Linked DNA regions of Homo sapiens: regions 1 and 2 are each linked to region 3. The links are contacts of gene promoters, found by promoter capture Hi-C in human tissues and cell types (Jung and others, 2019). All regions are on one chromosome and are shown on one strand. The core of a region is centred on a gene start or on the middle of the fragment in contact, and the rest is flanking DNA. Distances in the headings are between cores, read along the strand shown.

Region 1 (4,922 bases), core at 448-2,947, 1.0 Mb before region 3:
TCTGAGTATCAGTGATTCAGACATGGATGAATACAGTCTCTGAAAGAAACTTAGCCCATCTCAGTAATTTGCAAATATAGGCTATTCTCTGAATAAATAAGAAAACAAAAAAGAATTTACTGTTTGTGGCAATGGAAAGGGGCCAATGTGAAAACAGCAAATTTATCTTGAAAGAAAAACATGTGAAACTAGGTAAGTCATCATTAGTATTTTCAAGATAACTTAAAGACCCATCATATCTATTAAATGACAGCAGGTTGTCATGAAGAATAAACATAATCCAAGATCCATAATCCAGTCTATAAAGACTGCAGATGAAAATTATAGGTGTCATATTAAAAACACAATAGAAGCAGTGCCTTTCCTGAGTCACTGAAGAAAACCAAGATCACAGAAGAGAGAGATAGGCTTAAGAGCTTCTTCAAGAGCTCTGTGGAAAAGATTAAAGAGGTGAGAATCAAAGAAGAAAAAAAAATGATGTCCATGAGACCCAACATGCATATAATAGAATCCCTAGAAAGAAAAAGCAGATCTGACTGTCTGGAAGTCATGTTTGGGCTTGACTTAAGCCCTCACTTCCACACCATGACACTGTCCTACACAGCAGGGTAGGAGTCCCAGTCAGCCTGGTGCATTGGGAAGAATTAGTTGCAAGGTTGAATCTCTTAAGCTAACCTCTAACCCACAACACACAAAAAAGAGTATAATTAGGGTCTAACCAGTGGTGGGATTCTGTGCACTTCCTGTTTGCATTCCTTTAGAGAATCAATTTACTAATCCTTTGAGAGGTCATCAGGGGAAGAGAATACCCTGTTCCTGCTCTCAAGGAGGTTCCAATCTACTGAGGGACTCGGTCTGCTTCTAAGATACCTAAGATCATGTGTAAGGAAGATGGTCATCACAGACACAGGAACTCCTTTCTGGAGCTCCACATCGCCTGTCTTTCTGTAAATGGATTGCTAAAATGACTCATTTCCCCATGTACAGGGCTCCTCCAATGATGTCACTACAAAATTGCTTAGATATTATTTTAAAGTAGCCATCTTACTTTAAATATGGTATATTAGCCCATTTAGCATAGCTATAAAAGAGTACCTGAGGCTGGGTAATTTATAAAGAAAAGAGGTTTATTTTGGCTCATGGTTCTGCAGGCGGTACAAGAAGTGTGGCACCAGCATCTGCTTCTGGTGAGGCCTCAGGAAGCTTCCACTCATGGTGGAAGGAGAAGGGGGAGCAGGTGTGTCACATGGTGGGAGAGGGAGGAAGAGAGAGGGGAGGGAGGTCCCAGACTCTGGTTCATGCAAGCAGATCGTGCATGAACTCGTTACCATGGGGTTGGCACCAAGCCACTCTTGAGGGCTCCACCCCTAAGAGCCAAACACCTCCCACTAGGCCTCACCTCCAATTTTGGGGATCACATTTCAACATGAGATTTGCAAGGGACAAACATCCAAACCATATCATATGGGAATTGAAATTTTTTATAGATTATTTACAATTATAACCAGACCTGTGAAGAGAATGGCCTTGGGATCAGTCAGGCCTGGATTTGAGTCCTGGCTCTTTGCGGCTTCTATCAGGTGACTCAGCCTCTCTAAGGACTGAGTGTCCTTATCTGTATGATGGAAATGATAGTACAGCAGCATAGTGTTCCTCAAACATTACTGTGTACACCTTGCTAAAATGCAGATTGTATTCAGTACCGGGGGTGGTGCCTGGGAATCTGCATTTTTGCAAGCTCCTGGGTGCTGCTATTGCTGGTCTGTAGGACAGGCCTTGGCAATCTGTGGCCCTCAGACTCATTTTGTTCAGCCCCACAAGCTAAGAAGGTTTTTTTATGTTTTTTATATGTTTAAAATCTTGTAAACCACAAGCAAATAAAAAATTTGAAAAATATGTGACAGTGACCATATGTGGCATGCAAAGCCTGAAATATTTACTGTCTGGTCCTTTACAGAAAAAGTGTGTTGCCTCCTGTTGCAGATTCCAGTTCTACTGCTGCTTTATCCCCTATACCCTTGGGCCGCCTGAATTCACCTGCGGCTGCAGGCAAAGGCATTTTCCAGCATGCTAATAATTCCCATCTCAAATACCTGTGCCTCTCTCTTCTCTGCTGGAAGGCTTTATTTTTGGCACTAGGTGAGCTTTCTCAAAGATCTGGAGACCTAATTGGAGCTGGGGGGAAAGTTAACTTCAATCAGTAGGGAATAGAGTCAGATGGGTAAGTGTGCCAGTGTCCCTGTGAGTGGATTCTGAGGTGTGCTCCATGCTGTTTCACAGAGTGCACCCATGAGAGTGAGTTCCATGTGTCCACGTTAGTGACCTGCTTATTAAGGCACGCTTCATTGGCTTTATCTTGGCTAGCTCTTCCTTTTGATGTGCTGGTACCAGCTTACATAGGTTTTTGAGAATCAATGTGTGCATCTCTTCCCTCTGTGTTCAGTGATGTCATGATGGTGACCTAAAATTGACTATGGTGTCATATTTATACCAGGGAAATCCCTAGATGCTATAAATCAGGTTGTTGTTGTTGTTATTGATTTTTTTTTTTTTTTTTTTGAGACAGAGTCTCCCTCTGTTGCCCAGGCTGGAGAGCAGTGGCACGACCTTGGCTCATTGCAACCTCTGCCTCCTGGATTTAAGCAATTCTCTTGCCTCAACCTCCCCAGTAGCTGGAATTACAGGCACCTGCCACCACGCCCAGCTAAATTTTGTATTTTTAGTAGAGACTACCATGTTGGCCAGGCTGGTCTCAAACTCCTGACCTCAGATGATCCACCTGCCTCTGCCTCCCAAAGCGCTGGGATTACAGGCATAAGCCACCTTGCCCGGCCTGTTGTTATTGTTGTTGGACAGCCAGATGTTAGACATTTACCAACATACCATTTCCTTACTTGTCCTTTCTGGCCCAAATAAACTATGTGTACCCAAGTCCTTGTCTCAGGGTCTGCTTTGGGTAGAACTCATACTAGGAGAAGTACCTACCTGCCTCATAGTTTTGATGTTCCTGCACCAAAATCACACAAGATCACATCTGAGAATCATTAGCACAAGACTTAGTACGTGACAGTCACTTAAATGTCAGTTCCTTCTTCTTTCATCTCTTTCCCTTAGGAAAAGGGAGACTCCACAGCATTTTCCAAGATACCTGCCCTACAGGCTTTTGGTACCAAAGTCAGCTCGGGCCCCCTGGGCCACCTGGTCACCTTACTGGAGGCTACAGAATGACTTATTTGGCCTGTGTCCACACACAGACCACCACGCACAATGGGCAACAGGACATGGGCTGAAACTTGAATTGGCGTCAGGAAGGAAGCATATCCATTGCAACCACATGAAACTGAAAACATGTGGGCAAGGCAACCATGACAGCACCAGCATGTTCTACCAACTCCCACCAATGGGATGCAAACAGTGCCCCTTTGTGCAGAGGTGACAGAAATGAGGCTGGTAGCTCCTTCAGGGTGCTGTAAAGTGAGGTTGGAACTCAGAGCTAGAGAAGAAGAGGTGAGGCCCAGAAAAGTGGGAAGGAGGAGACAGAAAAGGCACGACTTGAAAGAGACTGCCAGGTCGGAAGAAGTGGCTCACCCCTGTAATCCCAGCACTTTGGGAGGCTGAGGCAGGAAGATCACTTGAGCCCAGGAGTTCGAGATCAGCCTGGGCAACATGGTGAAACCCCATCTTTACCCAAAATACAAAAAAATTAGCCAGGTGTGGTGGCGCATGCCTGTGGTCCCAGCTACTTGGGAGGCTGAGGTGGGAGGATCCCTTGAGCCTGAGAGGCTGAGGCTGCAGTGAGCCAAGATCTCACCACTGCATTCCAGCCTTGGTGACAGAGTAAGACCGTGTCTCTAAATAAATAAATAAATGAGAAAAGAGAAAGAGACCGTTAGGTGCCACCCCATATCCATTTTCCCCTTCCTACTTAGTAACGACCCCAATTTTTAATTCAGTGCTCAGCCAAAAGACCACATGACCCTATTTCCCTTGTAGCTGGGTGTGACTCTTATTCTAGTCAATGAGATAAAAAGTGGAAGTTGTGTGTGGGGCTTCCAGGAAGGCCCTGTAAAGGATACTGACTCGTCTAACCAACAGGCCGTTTTGCCCTCCCCCTCTTTTTCCTTATTGCAGCCTGGAGCTTGGTGTGACAGTTGGAGCTCCAGTAACTGTCTTGGGTGATGAGTTACCCTGGGATGGAAGTTGGCGCTGAGGATGGCGTGTGCAGATTGCAGTGTGGTTCTCTCTCCCACTCCGCCCTGGATCTGCTGACATGCCTCATTTTCTCCTCGTCCTGCCAGCAGCTGTATGTCCTTCCTCACGTCTAGCCACCGTGCCTTTCAGGATGCCAGCTCTCTGTGCTACGGCTGTGCCTCTTCCCTGAATTACTCAGGTCTATGCTAAGTTTTGGGCTCTCGCAACTTCCCTGGATTCTCCCCAGAATGAGAGTACAAGCCCCGGTTTTCGGATTCCCCAATCAACATGAGGGTTTTGCCACTCCGCAACGGGCTCAGTTCTGTAGCAGTGTCTGGAATGACCAGCATCTAAGCCTTCTTTCCTTCCTTTCTGGTCCTTACACTTCCTCCCCAACTTGTAGAAACTTTATAGGTGGCAAAAGGTACAAGGAACAAGATAACGTCTCTCTTTTGTTATATATGACTCTAAATTTCAAAACATCTATGACTTTTGAAACACAAAACTGTCAGAATTATTTCCCTTCTTCTCCCCATCCTGTGATAACATCCTTTTTCTGAGATAATAAAAGCCGTTGGCCCAGGTTCCCAGAGTGGGGAAAGGGTTGGCAGCCATAGGAAGTACTACCGGGCCAAAGCATCAGTGTGTATCTTGCAATACCTTACCACATTGAGAAAAGGGGGAGGAGACACTAGGAGAAGAGCTGAACAGCATCAGAGCCAGAGATGGAT
Region 2 (4,530 bases), core at 1,571-4,070, 1.1 Mb before region 3:
AGATGGTGGCTGGCAGGTGCGACAAGTCGCTGTGGAGCCGCACACTGGGATTGCTGAAGCTCTACTCACAGTGTCCCGACCTAGCAGAACATTCCCTAGCAAAGAACAGGGCCTGACATAACTCCCTTCCACACCTCGGCTGATATTCCTCTAAAATGGCAAAGCAAGGTTGTACATCCACAGGTCCCTGCCGTCCACGGACCCCCTACCCAACACAGTGAGACTCTTCTGAGGCCCGGGAAGTGGTTGGGAAACCCTGGAGGTGGGTAGGATGGGATTTAATATTTACTGAACAGTTACTCTACAACAGGCGTAGTACTGGGTATTTTTTTTTCAGTTGACTCTCACTGTCACCTGTGAAGTAAATATCTTTTCCTATTTTACAGTGAGAAAACTGAAGTTCTGAGTTTAAAAACATGTTCATTTGCAATTATGTAGCTCAAATTACAATCCACCTATGTTCTGCACCTTTCAATAGCCATGTGACTCACCCTTTTAATGAAAGCTTCAGGGAAGTAAGGTAAGGACCCTGGAACTATTGCAAAGACGGACAAAGGGGCTGCATGATAGCAGACCTCCAGAGCCATGATGACAACAAGAAGGGGGATGTTTTCACCCCACACCCCTAGAGGAACTTAAGGGCAGCCTTCTTCTGTGTGTGTGTGTGTGTGTGTGTGTGTGTGTGTGTTTAGAGGATAATTAAAAAGAAAAAACATATATTGTATCAACCCATTCTCTCGCTGCCATGGAGAAACACCAGAGACTGCATAACTTATTTTGTTAAAAAAGAGTTTTAATTAACTCACAGTTCCACATGGCTGGGGAGGCCTCAGGAAACTTACAATCACGGTGGAAGGCACCTCTTCACAGGGTAGCAGGAGAGAGAATGAGTGCCTAGCAAAGGGGGAAGCCCCTTATAAAACCATCAGCTCTCATGAGAGCTAACTCACTGTCATGAGAACAGGGGAAACCACCCCCATGATTCAATGACCTCCACCTGGTCCCTCCCATGACACGTGGGGATTACAGGAACTACAATTCGAGATGAGATTTGGGTGGGAACACAGTTAAACCATATAATATATATAGCTGCATATCTATCTATCAATCATCTATAATCTATCTGCCCTCAGAAATCTCAATTCCTGACTGTTCAGGAGAAGATGGAGAAGAGCCACATAATGTGGGCCTTCGAGTGATTCTGGATGGGCAGTGTGCCTTTTAAAGTGGTTGAGGGTGCACTGGTTTCTTTTTATTAATCTGGAAATGTAGCAGGCTGTGGTACCATATCAAGAGCCCCAGACTCAGTCAGAAGCCCTTGGTTCCATTTCTGATCTTGCTCTTTCCTAGCTGTGTGACCTTGAGCAAATCCTTATCTTCTCTGATCTTCAATTTCTACCTTTGTAAAATTGTACTAATAATGACACCTAACTTAAAAGCTTTTTAGGAGGGTTATTCCCCTCATTTTTGCAAGCGAGGAAACTGAGGCTTAGACATTCATTAATTCTTCCTATAGACATTTTTTATTTTTGAGATGGAGTATTGCTCTGTTGCTTAGGATGCAGTAGAGTGGCATGATCAACAGCTCACTGCAGCCTCAAATTCCAGGGCTCAAGCAATCCTCCCACCTCAACCTCTTGAGTAGCTGGGACCACAGACACGTGCTGCTACACCTGGATAATTTTATTTATTTAATTTTTTTGTAGAGATAGGGTCTTGTCATGTTCCCCACGCTGGTCTTGAACTCCTGGACTCAAGCAATCCTCCCACCTTGGCCTCCCAAAGTGCTGGGATTCGCGGTGTGAGCCACTGCACCTGGCCACAGACGTTTATTGAAGAATGATATAATGGGAGGGACAAAGAGAAGAGCCAGATAAAGCAGGTCTTTGAGTGATCCTGAATGGGCAGTGTGCCTTTTAAAATGGTTGAGAAACGTTGTTCTAAAGATCAAAGATAAAATAGAGAGAAAGCAGAGAAGAGTCTGCAATGCTGAGCTTCAGGGACCTCAATGTAGACCTCCAAAGACAAAGACATACATATTCTGTCTGGTTCCTGGCCTTTCAGGAATCTTGGGAAATCCTGGGTGAAACTATTTCATTTCTGGACAATAGGATGGGGTTGTGTGTGAGTCAGGGTCCTGGCAGAAAAAGCACAAAGGGGTGATTAAGGAGGTGTTCATAAAGATTCATCTTACAAATGGAGGTATAAGGAAAACTGAGGAGGAACAAGGAAGCACAGCCCAGCTAATACAGAGAGGAGCTGCTTCCCTTTCCACAGATCCAGTCCTGAAGGGCTAAAGGGAAGGAACAGTTTCTGGAACTAACAAGAGCCATGACTCCAACAGTGGAGCTGAGAGGAACTGTGGCCTTGGAAAAAGGAGCATGGCCTCTGCCCTTGGCTAGGGACTGAGGAAGTCAGGAGGAAGAAATAACCCAATCTCTTTCTGTTCCCCTCAACATTCTCCTATTGGTGCCTCCCATTGGCTGAATCAGAATAGAAGCTGGAAAGTAAGGGAGCTCACTGATGCAGCCTTGGAGATCAGTCCCACCTGAGACACGGAATGGGGTGGAAAAAGTGGGAGAATGCCCAGCACAACTCCTTACAAAGAAGAAGGGTACAGAAGTCCATTTTAGAAGGCAAGGTCTATGTATGTTGGGGAAGAAAACTACTGAGAGGCCCTTTAGCTAATTGAAAGGAGAAAGTGGTTCCATTGGAAGGGACAATCTGGCATTCCCTAATGGCCACATATCAAAGGAAGGCTTTGATTTGGCATCTCTTGGCACATGTACCTGTTTGGTATTGAAAAGTCAGTTCCAGAAAGCAAGACGTGAATCAACTCCCCAGTAAAGAGTTAGATTGGATTGCCACTTGATATTCTAAAAGAGGTGAAGAAATGGAATGTTTATCTCCTTGAAACTTATAGAATGTTATTTTGTGGACACTGTGGTGCGTCACCTAGTCCCCCTTCAGGAATGAGGGACTTACACCCTGACTGCTGGTAGCCCGATGCAGGGACTGGCTCTGATGAGTCCAGCAGGTGGGTGTTGTATCCAATGACTGATCAAGGTGCGGAGGTAAAGGCCCATTCCCTTCATCCCAACTAGGGTTGACGCTGAATGGCCAGCCCAGCTCCAGAGTGCCCCTTGGGGGCATTTAGCCATCAACAGGGTGCATTGCAAACCAGCTTCTCCCTCTGCCCAGTCCAGCTTCCTTCTCCTCCTTTCCTTGGGTATAAACCTCAAGAGCATGTGGGGCACACCCTGTATCCCAGAGTCTACTTCCTGACACTCCCACAAGCACAGTTATTAGAAGCTCCCTTATTAGCAATCCTTAAAAACAAAACCACTGTTGAGAGTTGACAAGCAGTAACAATAACAGACATCTGTGAAGCTTCATACTTCACTCAGCACTCATCACTCACTTAGTCTTCCCAGCAATCTGGAAAGGTTGGCAGACACTTGGAGGACTGGTGCCTTCCCTATTTTATTGTCTCACAAACAGGATGCCCAGCGTGGATGGGTATCAGCAAAATCCTGTTGTAGGCAGTAATTAGAAAATTTAGGATGATGATTGCCAAACTGTTTGATGAAACATGAGTACGCTACCAGATGTTAACAGGTGTTCTGTTTTAAAAAGTGGGAGTGATGTGTAGTCATATATTTTTGGAAAAGACTAAAATTGGTTTCTTGGCTGGGTGTGATGGCTCATGCCTGTAATCTCAGCACTTTGGGAGGTCAAGGCAGGAGGATCGCTTGAGCCCAGAGTTTGAGACCAGACTGGGCAAGATTCTTGCTGTCTCTATCTCTTTACAAACAAAAAATAAAACAATTAGCTGGTTATGGTGGTGTACACCTGTAGTTCCAGTTACTCAGGAGGCTGAGGCAGGAGGATTGCTTAAGCTTGGGAGGTGAAGGCTACAGTGAGCTGTGATCATGCCACTGCACTCCAGCCTGGGTAACAGAGTGAGACCCTGTCCCAAAAAACAACAAAAACGGGCTCTGGGGAGATGGGGAGGAAAAGCTTGGGGCTTTCTCCAGAGCCAGGTGGATTTTCCCAGAGCTTCTGGCTTCCTAGTCGACTCCGCTGAGGCTGTTGAAGGCACTGATGCTTTCAAGAGAGCAAATGAGAAGGAGAAAAATAAGCCTGGGTAGTTGTGTTCCAGCTGACTGATGTGGCAACGGCTCCTGCTGCTCTCCAGGGCTTTGGTCTGCTCCTGCTCACGACCCTCCATGACAGGAGTCCCTGGCTGAAGCCCAGAGCAGCCAACTCTTTTCTTGAGGCTAACTCTATCTCTTTGGTCCAGAAAATATCAAGCCAGAGTTCAAGTATGAGCCTGGCTATCTGATAGCAGGGAGGAAAATGCAAACCAACATTGAATAATATTCCTCTGCCTCATATTTACTTAGTGAATTCTCAATGATTTCCATGAATAGAGAGATCAGAAATGTGGCCAATCCCAAACAGCAGATCATTCCTAAGTCTGATTAGTGTGGGGTATATTTGCATTTGAAAATGAGAATCATGGATGCT
Region 3 (4,921 bases), core at 1,723-4,222:
GCAGAGGAATGTAGCAAAGTGCATTGGAGAGGAGGAGCTAACCAGAGGGGCACAAGCCTTGATTATCTGAAGACCAGGTGGGATCTGAAAAACCATAAGAAATTCAGTTAAGCTGACAGCAATGAAAGGGACAAAACAGTGTTAGAAATTAGCATAATGTGTTCTCCAACAGAAAGTTCCAATAGAACTTTTTGCAATAATGAAATTTTCTTTATCTGAACTATCCAATACAGGAGCCACTAGCCACATGTAGCTACTGAGCACTTAAAATGTGGCTGGTGTGACCAAAGAATTGGATTTTTAGGCCAGGGGCGGTGGCTCACACCTGTAATCCCAGCACTTTGGGAGGCTGCGGCGGGTGGATCACAAGGTCCAGAGTTCAAGACCAGCCTGGACAATATGGTGAAACCCCGTCTCTACTAAAAATACAAAAATTAGCTGGGCGTGGTGGTGGGAGCCTGTAATCCCAGCTACTCGAGAGGCTGAGGCAGAGAACTGCTTGAACCCGGGAGGCACAGGTTGCAGTGAGCTGAGATCACGCCACTGCACTCCAGCCTGGACGACAGAGCAAGACTCCGTCTCAAAAAAAAAAAAAGGAAAAGAAAAAAGAAAAAAAAAAGAATTGGATTTTTATTGAAGAACTCAGGAACTGAATTTTAAATTTTATTTAATTTTAATTAATTTAAATTTCAATATTCACACATGGCTAATATCTACTGTACAGCAGAGCTCTTACAGTAAGAGACCCTTCTGAATAGTAGAGTGGCAGATAGAAGGAGAGGCTAAGCTTTGCCATGTAGGCAGTAGGCCCTTTCAGACTGGAAGGGACCTGGATAAACTAAACCTGGTGCCTGGCAAGTGCTGGCCAAGTGCTTGATGTGCTACCCTATTCCCTCTCTCTGCAAGGATATTTGTAATTGAGCTAGATGCTCTGAACAACGAAGGTCTAAAGACACAGGGGACTGGTTCTCTGATGGCACAATTTGAGAGAGCTATTTTGGGTGTGAATGTCTTTTGCCTACATCTACCACCTAGGATCAGGGTCAGACCCACTGTCTTTTAAGAGGGTCAACAGTGTAAAGGCTGTGTCCAAACTTGCATCTTCTTAGACCAAACAATAACCTTCCTTCCCTCCCTTGGTCCTTCTCTCCCCTCCTTCCTTCCATGACTTTGTGCTATGCTGGGTTTTGGGAAGAGGAGGTGGAACAACGCAGTACCTTTTCTTTTCTTTCTCTCTCTCTCTTTTTTTTTTTTTTTTTTTTTTTTTTGAGACGGAGTCCCATTCTGTCGTGCCCAGGCTGGAGTACAGTGGCTGGAGTATCTCGGCTCACTGCAACCTCAGCCTCCAGGGTTCAAGGGATTCTCCTGCCTCAGCCTCCCGAGTAGCTGCGATTACAGGTGCCCGCCACCAAGCCCAGCTAATTTTTTTTTTTTTGTATTTTTAGCAGAGACAGGGTTTTGCCATGTTGGCCTGGCTGGTATCAAACTCCTGACCTCAGGTGATCCGCCTGCCTCAGACTCCCGAAGTGTTGGGAATACAGGTGTGAGCCACCGTGCCCGGGCAGTACCTTTTCTTTTAAAAGCTCACAGATGAGTATAAAAATGTCCACGCACTGGCTGGGAGCCAGATGATTTGGGTTCTGGGTTCTAGTTCTGTCTCCCCAGACTTGCTGTCTGTGACACAGCTTTCCCATTTGTAAAATGTCAGGGCTGCAGAGGACTTCTGAGGTTTCCGCCCTCTCCTACCTCCTGGGAGATTATGTCATGTAATAATGCTAACAGTGGTAATAAAAACCCAGCCACGTTGAGTGTTCCAGGTTTCACGCACTGTGCCAAATGTTTCACATTTGCCATTTCACTCAATCCTCGTGGCCGTTTTACAACCCTCATTTTATAAATAAGAACCCTGAAGCTGCCTGAGTTTAGGTAACTACTTCAGGGCCACACAAGGAGTAAGTAGTTGAGTTGGGATTTGAATATTGATTCCAAACCTTGAGCTCTTAATGACTTTGCTGTATACATTACTTCTTGCCACAGGTGGGCCAGTGACGAACGAACGTTGGGTTAAGCAGGGAGGTATTCTTGTTAGGATTATTAGCAATGCTTAGTGTATGTATGTATTGTTAATTTTATTATTATTTTTTTGAAACAGTCTCGCTTTGTCGCCTAGGCTGGAGGCAGTGGCGCGATATCGGCTCACTGCAACCTCCGCCTCCTGGATTCAAGCGATTCTCGTGCCTCAGCCTCCCGAGTAACTGGGATTACAGGCACGAGCGACCACGCCCGACTACATTTTGTATTTTTAGTAGAGACGGGGTTTCGCCATGTTGGCCAGGTTGGTCTTCAACTCCTGACTTCAGGTGCTCCGCCCGCCCCAGCCTCCCAAAGTGCTGGGATTACAGGCTTGAGTCACCGCGCCCGGCCTGTATTTATTTTTATATAGAGAAGGGCGAGGGAGCGGGGTCATTTTGTTACCCAGACTGGTCTCGAACTCCTGGGCTCAAGCGATCCTCTCGCCTCGGCCTCCCTCCCAAAGTGTTGGGATCACCGGCCTGAGCCCCCTGCCCGGCCTCGCTCTACGTTTTTTAGGCGCATTCTGAACGTGAAGTGTATACACTGAATTCTCACAGCAACTGCATAGGGCATCAGTACCAGTGCCCTTACTGTACAGATGGGGAAAATGAGGCTCAGACAGGCGAAGTAAGTAGCTTAAGTTCACACAGAGAGGAAATGGCAGGGATTCAAAGCCTAGGAGTCCGCCTGCAACCCTCTCGCCTGACCGTCCAGTCTTCAGCTCCGCGGAGCCTGGGCCTGGGGCTGGGGCTGGGGCTGAGGCTCTGGAAGCCGCCGGGACGCAGACGCCACTGGGCCCCAGCGTCACACCTCGGCCGCGCACGCGCTCTCGGGTTCCGGGCCGGAGCGCGCGGCGGGAGCGAGGACGGCGGCAGGGAGCGTGCGCGCGGTGACGTACCGGGCGCCATGTTGGAGGGTTGGTGGTAGCGGCTTGGGGAGGTGCTCGCTCTGTCGGTCTTGCTCTCTCGCACGCTTCCCCCGGCTCCCTTCGTTTCCCCCCCCCGGTCGCCTGCGTGCCGGAGTGTGTGCGAGGGAGGGGGAGGGCGTCGGGGGGGTGGGGGGAGGCGTTCCGGTCCCCAAGAGACCCGCGGAGGGAGGCGGAGGCTGTGAGGGACTCCGGGAAGCCATGGACGTCGAGAGGCTCCAGGAGGCGCTGAAAGGTGGGGGTAGCTGCCCCCTCTCCATTCCCCCTCACCTTCTCCGGCTCGCTCTTCTCTCCTTTCAGGGCGGATGGTTCCGAGGACCGGGGCCGGGCGCGGCGTGGGGAGAGTGCTTCCCGGGCTCCCATCCCCCTCCACCTCCCCAGGGGCGGGGAGCCCTGTGGGCAGCTCTCTCCCGCCCCGCTCTGGCTTTGTGTCGGCCGCCGGCGTCTGGGCTGGGGGAGGGGAGCCGGGGAAACTCTTGCGGGGGCCCCAGTCTTTCTCCCACCCGTTCAGGGGACGAGTGGCGGACCCGCAGACCCCTCCCTCCCAGATATCCTCTTTTCTCCACCAGGCTACCCGTACGCTAGGCGTTGGGGTGGGAGAAAAAGTAAACGGTTGGTGGGGGCGGGGGTAGGGGGTAGCATCGCAACTTTTAAGTTGTCTCAGTATGCCTTTTTCAGGGCTTTTGAAGTCATCTTTCCGCGCCCTAATTTCGAGGTGGTTGCCTTCACTGTTCTTGATTGCACGCCTTCCACGCAACAGGCTTGAGAACAGTGGCTTACAAACTTCGAGTAGAGAGATTTCAGCGTTTTGAGAATTATTCTTTGACATTCAGAATCATTTGGGGACGGCAACTTGGGGTAGTTGGTGCTTCTTAGAAAGGCAGATTTATGGACTTAGATGAACAATTGGTGGGAGTCGGGGCCTGGGGATTTTTATTTTCACTGGATTCCCAGCTTAATATAATGCTGGTGTTCCCCCGGACCACACTTCGAGAAGCACTGCGTTAAAAATGGTTTGTGAAGTTGAGTGCCCCCTTTAGGAGGATTCTTGTTATCTGTAAAGAGGGTGACATGTTGGAAGTAGAACTTGGAGGATTGAGGTGGTAATTTGGTTGAGAGGCCTTATTTTTTTAATTTTGTATTTAATTGATTTTTAATAAGGTAAAGGACTAGGAGGAAAGTTTGTTTTTAGAGCGCTTTTGAGAAAACTGATAACGTTTTTTTTTCTTCCTTCATCTAGATTTTGAGAAGAGGGGGAAAAAGGAAGTTTGTCCTGTCCTGGATCAGTTTCTTTGTCATGTAGCCAAGACTGGAGAAACAATGTGAGTTGAAAACATGCATTTGTCGTTATAGACCAGTGCATTATTAAGAATTGCTCAGGAAAGGGAAAAAAGTATATTTTGGGATAATTAAATAATTCATTCTAAATTGTAGAAGTCCTGGTCATTTAAATAATTTATATATTTACATTTAAAGAACGTATACGCTTACTTACTTTATACATGGTCTGTAACGGATTTTAAAAACCTGTGTATGTTAAAATTTTCTTTATAGCTAGGCTTTGGCACGCTTAGAGAATGTATTAGTCTTAACGAGCCAGAGAAAGGAAGAATGCCTATTCCATTATGACCCTTTTTGGCCATAACAAATAGGCTTATTCCTAGAATTTTGTGGCTTTGATTCTGTTTCAGAGTCTTGGTGGTATTTTCTCATATTGTCGTGTGTCCAGCCTTTTTTTGGTCATATTTGCATATGTAGGTGTTTAAAGTGTCACTTCTATTTATCGTCTGGAGGACTCTGTTATTATCTGACAAATTCCAGATGCTACAGTTTTGACTTGTAGACTTTCTAAGATAGCTGACTTGTTACATATGCTCAGCATTTTATTCAGCTCGTTTCCAAATGTTCTGAATCTGAAACTTA

What was found. The method cuts DNA at HindIII sites, captures the fragments that hold promoters and counts their contacts. A contact is called where the count stands out against the background at its distance.
Region 1: a fragment that was not itself captured here is called in contact with the fragment with the promoter of PPP4R2 in region 3 in 1 of the 25 tissues and cell types used here (lymphoblastoid cells).
Region 2: a fragment that was not itself captured here is called in contact with the fragment with the promoter of PPP4R2 in region 3 in 1 of the 25 tissues and cell types used here (lymphoblastoid cells).

What each region holds. Positions count from the first base shown.
Region 1 is chr3:71,990,278-71,995,199 of GRCh38, forward strand. It overlaps LOC105377157 (a long non-coding RNA gene), which reads left to right and starts at 3,422. Exons shown (of 2, transcript XR_940957.3): 1 at 3,422-3,507; 2 at 4,132-4,922. The HindIII fragment of the contact is 8,690 bases long and covers 1-4,922 here.
Region 2 is chr3:71,937,336-71,941,865 of GRCh38, forward strand. No RefSeq gene overlaps it. Among named protein-coding and RNA genes, the nearest start is that of PROK2, 150 kb to the left of the region's middle. RefSeq lists a silencer at 920-969. The HindIII fragment of the contact is 3,696 bases long and covers 973-4,530 here.
Region 3 is chr3:72,993,839-72,998,759 of GRCh38, forward strand. PPP4R2 (protein phosphatase 4 regulatory subunit 2) reads left to right here and starts at 2,973. Exons shown (of 9, transcript NM_174907.4): 1 at 2,973-3,233; 2 at 4,239-4,320. The coding sequence starts at 3,200. It overlaps LOC124909395 (a long non-coding RNA gene), which reads right to left and starts at 3,353. Exons shown (of 2, transcript XR_007095961.1): 1 at 3,269-3,353; 2 at 1-84. RefSeq lists enhancers at 2,598-2,647, 3,908-3,957 and a silencer at 2,828-3,457. The HindIII fragment of the contact is 8,748 bases long and covers 1-4,921 here.